Regions from separate parts of the Homo sapiens genome. Here region 2 is linked to region 1. Evidence: promoter capture Hi-C in 16 types of primary human blood cells and fetal thymus (Javierre and others, 2016). All regions are on one chromosome and are shown on one strand. The core of a region is centred on a gene start or on the middle of the fragment in contact, and the rest is flanking DNA. Distances in the headings are between cores, read along the strand shown. Region 1 holds the start of DPPA4 (developmental pluripotency associated 4). Region 2 holds the start of GUCA1C (guanylate cyclase activator 1C).

What was found. The method cuts DNA at HindIII sites, captures the fragments that hold promoters and counts their contacts. A CHiCAGO score of 5 or more calls a contact.
Region 2: the fragment with the promoter of GUCA1C here is called in contact with the fragment with the promoter of DPPA4 in region 1 in 4 of 17 cell types (neutrophils, M2 macrophages, naive CD8 T cells and 1 more); the score reaches 8.1 in neutrophils.

The regions. Positions count from the first base shown.
Region 1 is chr3:109,336,201-109,338,991 of GRCh38, forward strand. It overlaps DPPA4 (developmental pluripotency associated 4), which reads right to left and starts at 1,346. Exons shown (of 7, transcript NM_018189.4): 1 at 1,264-1,346. The coding sequence starts at 1,317. RefSeq lists enhancers at 1-234, 235-843, 844-1,451, 2,670-2,791. The HindIII fragment of the contact is 8,399 bases long and covers 1-2,791 here.
Region 2 is chr3:108,952,546-108,955,265 of GRCh38, forward strand. GUCA1C (guanylate cyclase activator 1C) reads right to left here and starts at 1,334. Exons shown (of 4, transcript NM_005459.4): 1 at 1,014-1,334. The coding sequence starts at 1,217. The HindIII fragment of the contact is 5,644 bases long and covers 478-2,720 here.

The sequences.
Region 1 (2,791 bases), core at 96-2,595:
TCACTTTCAGGGTGGATTACTGGACAAATTAACATTTGTATGGCATTTTTACATCTCTATAGCAGTTCTACATTTTGATTTGAAATTTATATTTGCATAAACCTTACAAAAAGTACTCACTTTGGACCTCACAAAAGACTTAAAACCGAGACAGTTAAAAATGACCCAGTTCAAGTCAAGAGGACCTGAGAGCGCTCGGATATGGCCGTTCAGTGCCTGTGCAACGTCTTAAATCCTCTCTTCCTTCAGTTTCTGTCTGCATTGTTCCCAATGTCTGGCTTCTGATTACTCCTAGGTCCTAAGGACGCTGGGAAAAGGGGACGAATTCATTCTCAGCACCCTCGGTTTAGGATCTGTGTCCGTCTAAAGGAAATTAAGGGGTTTCATTCTTTTCCAAACTCAGCTCAATTACCTCTTCCTAAAATCTTTCCTTTAACACCCTTTTCTCCTGTTACCATTTCCCTCTAGCCCCCATATTCAGTTAGTTCTTTCTGACAGGACTAAGCACCTCTTCAAAACAGAAAACCCGGGCCGGGAGCAGCGGCGGGCGCCTGCAGTCCCAGTAGCACTTTGGTAAGCCGAGGTGGGAGGATCGTTTGAGCCTGGGCGGTTACAGTGAATAGTGATGGTGCCACTGCACTCCAGCCAGGGAGACAAAAGTGAAACCCTGTTCCAAAACACAAACCTGAAAACCTAATTTTTTAACTTTTTCTTTTGAGGTGGAGTTTCGCTCTGGTTGCCCAAGCTGGGGGTGCAATGGGGCGATCTCGGCTCACCGCAACCCCCGACTCCCGGGTTCAAGCGATTCTCCTGCCTCAGCCTCCCGAGTAGCTGGGATTACAGGTGTGCGCCACCACACCTGGCTAATTTTGTACTTTTAGTAGAGACGGGGTTTCTCCATTTTGGTCAGGCTGGTCTCGAACTCCCGACCTCAGGTGATCCGCCCGCCTCGGCTGCCCAAAGTGCTGGGATTACAGGCGTGAGCCACCGCGCCCGGCCTCTTTTTTTTTTTTCCCCATCTTTTGACACACTCAACCTCCTCAACTAAACCTAGAAAACCTCATTTCTTACTTGTCTGCTCACTCCAATATACCAGGCTGCAATCATATTCTTGGGCCTTACTCTTAAAATAAAAAAAAAAAAAGTCAAGAGGAGAAAATTCGAAGGCACATTCTTTTCTCCTTAAAGGAAAAATCAGGAGTGCCCAGGGAAGACAGAAACACAAAGACAGACAGAAAACAAATCCACTAAAACTGTACTGACCTCCTTGCCTTTTGCCTTCTCCATACTTGTAGAAGAAGCGGAGCCTCGCAACATGCTTCCAAAATGGCCCCTGCCCCAAGATTGCTATTTGCAAAGTCTCCTCCCACTTCCTGCCGCCCGAAGACCCTTTTTCTCTCCACCTCACCTCTTCTTTTCTTCTCCCCTTCTGTTCCCTCCCCCACAATTTGTAAATGCTAAAATTGCATTCTTTCTTATTCATGGGGTGACTTTTGTCTGGGTTGAATTACTAATACTATTCCTGGCCCTTTTCTGTTCACTTTAAATGTAATTATCCAAAGTATGGTTCCGGAGACATTGGGAGATTGAGCACTCCTTCAGAACGATTCTACGGGGAAAAAAAACAAAAAACAAAAAACAAAAAAACAGTGGCCAGAGACTTGAGCAGGATGTGTGAAGGGATTTAATAATGGAACTTGTGGCAACAGTAGACTTCAGAGACCAGACTGGCGGCTTGAAGAAAGCTATTTTCTCGTACCAAATACATTCCATTTCCTAAGTAAGTTACTCAACCAACTAAAACTCCAGGTTTCTCTGTACTAATACCGAGCATCTTTTCATCTGCCAACGAACTAATAATAGTAGCTTTTAAAGTCTATAGAGTATTTGTTATTTATTTTGTAGAGGGCAAGTGGGGGGGTCTGGCTATTTTGACCTGGCTGGTCTCGAACTCCTGCCCTCAAGTAATTCTCCAGCCTTGTCCTCCCAAAGTGTTGGGATTACAGGCGTGAGCCACCACTCCCCGCCCGAGTATTTTTTTATATCTCAAATTGTGAGTTTTAAATTCAGTCATTATTGTTCCCCATTTTATATATGACTAAAGTTGGTATAAATTTTTATTGGTAACTTTTTCAATAGCACAGTAAGTGAACCCCTAACCTACTGACTCCCAAAGAAGTTCAAGTTTTTCTCCTTAAAATAATTTGAAAAATCTTTCCTCAGATCAGTGCTCCCTGTCAGATTGTCAAGAGATGTGAAGTGAAGGAAGCAGTGGCTGTGCGACTGAAACCCTCCCTTGTCAGGGTCCAAAGTCTCTTTTGTTCTTTGGTTTACTTTGTTGTTTTTTTTTCCTACATCTCATTGCTTGTCCTAAAATGATAAATAAGAGACTGTCTTTATCCAAATGGTGTTAGTAATCTGCTCACAGGCTAGAAATCCACGGACAGAAAAAGTAAGTAAACGGAGCCCAGGAATAGAGAAGGAAGTGCAGGTTGTGGACTGGGCAACCCCCAAGGCGGCAAAGAGGAAACCAGGTGAGTTGAGGTCATCTGGGAGATATTAGGGCTTTGATTTAACAATTCTTTACCACAGCCTTTGGTAACCACCAGTAGGACTTTCTAATTAAGGTTTGTGTATAAAGTGTATAACTGAATCATCTTTCTTTTGTCAGTGTAATTGAACGTAACATTCAGAATAACTGGAGTTCTGGGCTGGGCATGGTGGCTCACGCCTGTAATCTCAGCACTTTGGGGGGCTGAGGTGGGCAGGTCACTTGAGTTCAGGAGTTTTG
Region 2 (2,720 bases), core at 84-2,583, 380 kb before region 1:
CCCAAGTTCCTGCCTGTTACCTCCTTTTAAGTCACCTGCTTCTTGGTTTAAAGTATTTTGCTAAATTCTACACATCCTATCAAACAACCAGTTTTTTTTTTAATTTTACTCAATTTACCTCCCCTTCTTTCTCTTCTATTATCAGTTGGATGGCCTTCTAAAGTCATTATTTTCTATTAGCATTTTCTCTGTTCCTTTTTATTCTAGTCAATATCTACACATTTTGAAATATACAAATCTACAGTAAAATAACCAAAATAAACAAGTAAAAGCAGGCAGAACCTGAGCCTGATATTTCAGGTTGTTGCTTTTTTGTCTCTCTTTTTTTTTTCAATTCCATATATTCTTTTCTCTTCTTTGTATTTTTTCAAGAAATGAAATTAAATGCACTACAGCTCCTCAGGAATGAGTAAATTCAAGATAAAAGTTGAGTAACAATCTTTAGAAACAAAAATTTGTCTGAATTTAAAACTGTTAAGCTTCCATTTTTCCCAAACTAAATTGGTAAACTATGGGGAAAAAAGTAATATGAAGCAGTTTAACTTTTGATTTGAGTACAGACAACATGTTGGCTAATTTGTATTGATTATATCTGCCAATCTAGATGCAATCACACTTTTAAAAGCAGAGTCCTGTAATTTGCTTTTCTATAAAATGTCACCAATGCATTAAATACTTCGAAAACAGTCTTTGTAAATCAATCTGTACTTATTAGATTTATTTAAATGATAGCATTAGAATTCCATGCCGAGATTTAATCTGGTTTTAAAATAACTCCCTACATGCAGAACACTTCCTAGGGTGGGAGAGGCTAGTTCCCAATTATTTTCATGCCGTCAGTACTAAAAGTATTTAATGACTCACTTACCTACAAGCTGTGAGTTGCCTGAAGACCTCTCCATTCAGTGGGATGTACACATTTTACTTAAGGCTATTTTACAGGAAAAAAAAAAAAAAGGGAAGAGTGCAGAACCACAGCATTTTCAAATGAAATGAAAAATGAAAGATCTTACCTTGTTCGTGTCAAAGGTATTATAAACTTGATCAATATGTTTATTGGCCTTCTGATTCAGACCTTGCAGACCCAAAAGTGTCTTAAATTCATGTAGTGTTTGCAGGCCGGATGGATATTCCATCATAAATGTTCTGTACCACACATGGGTCTCTTGTGTAGGAACTGCTTTCTGATCACCAGCTATAGATTTGCCATTCCCCATCTTGACTCACAGTCTACAGCTTTTCCTCAGGTTGTTTTCACTTAAGTTTTTGCTGGATTTAGTCCCTTACTCCTCACTAAAACTGAAGGCTAACATATGCCCTCAGAAAGCTACTCTAAACCTCTTACAGCAACAAGCTAAATAAGAATAGAAAGCCAGTGAGATTAACTTATCTGCCCAGTTTTAAAACCAAGGTCACTTGGCACTTGGTAACTAACATGCTTACAGTCATGCAGAGACATAGTTTTTTGTGAAGGGAACACGCAATATTTTAGAGAGGGTGATCCTTGTTATATTGTTAGCCATAAATTTTGCCTACATTATTGAGTGGTACAGTGGGTCTAATGGCAGGAACTTTGAGTTGCAATCAGGAAGCCTAGATTCTATGCTTTGTTCTACCACTTATTAACTATATTGAAACATTACTTACATTCTCGTGTTTCCTCATCTGTAAAACAGTAATAAAAGTTTCTGCCTTTTCATACCTGAGTATTGTGAAGATATATTTAGATAACATTTTACATGAAAAAATCATACATTGAGTATTATTAAAAAGAAGTCTATGTATAAGAGAGAAAAATAGGTAAAGAGAATTAAATAGTAGTAAGAAGAACTTCAGATGTAGTAGTCAGATAAAGGAACATATTGGGCTGTGTCTTCTGGCAGTGTTCTTCCTTTCTCTCCCCCACCCTCTGTTCTTACCTTTTTCTGGTCTCTCAAGTATCTACACATGCCACTGGCCTGCCAGCTTTATCTCACTCCAGTTTTCTAATCTGGCTAATCTTGTCCTAACCAAGCCCCATTTGCCAATGAACTTAAGAACAGGGTCAATGGACCTAAGAACTGTATCCAAGGTCCAGTAGTGGAAATGAATGCTTTGTGTGGTCCTCAACCCATTTTGGTACCAACCATACTTAGAACCAGAAAACCCCAGGTAGAATATAATTCTGTTACCCCTAAATTATAGTTCTCCTTTTTTTTTTTTTTTTTTTGAGATGGAGTCTCGCTCTGTCCCTCAGGCTGGAGTGCAGTGGCATGATCTCAGCTCACTGCAAGCTCCACCTCCTGGGTTCACGCCATTCTCCTGCCTCAGCCTCCAGAGTAGCTGGGACTACAGGCGCCCGCCACCACGCCCAGCTAATTTTTTGTATTTTTAGTAGACATGGGGTTTCACCGTGTTAGCCAGGATGGTCTCGATCTCCTGACCTCATGATCCGCCTCAGCCTCCCAAAGTGCTGGGATTACAGGCACAAGTCACCACACCTGGCCTACAGTTCTCTTTTCTAACCTCACTCAATTCTTTCTTTTATTTTCATTTTGGCCCAGCTCATATATCTGGTCTCTGTCTTTGTCCCTATTCCTTAGTCCTGACTGATTACCTGTTTATTATGAAACCCTTGATTCCTAAGAAGTAGCCATCATGGCCTAAATGAACTGCCTTGACCAGAAGTGGTGGTGGTTACAGTGAATATGGTTAATTTTGTTTCAAACATATCAATGTAG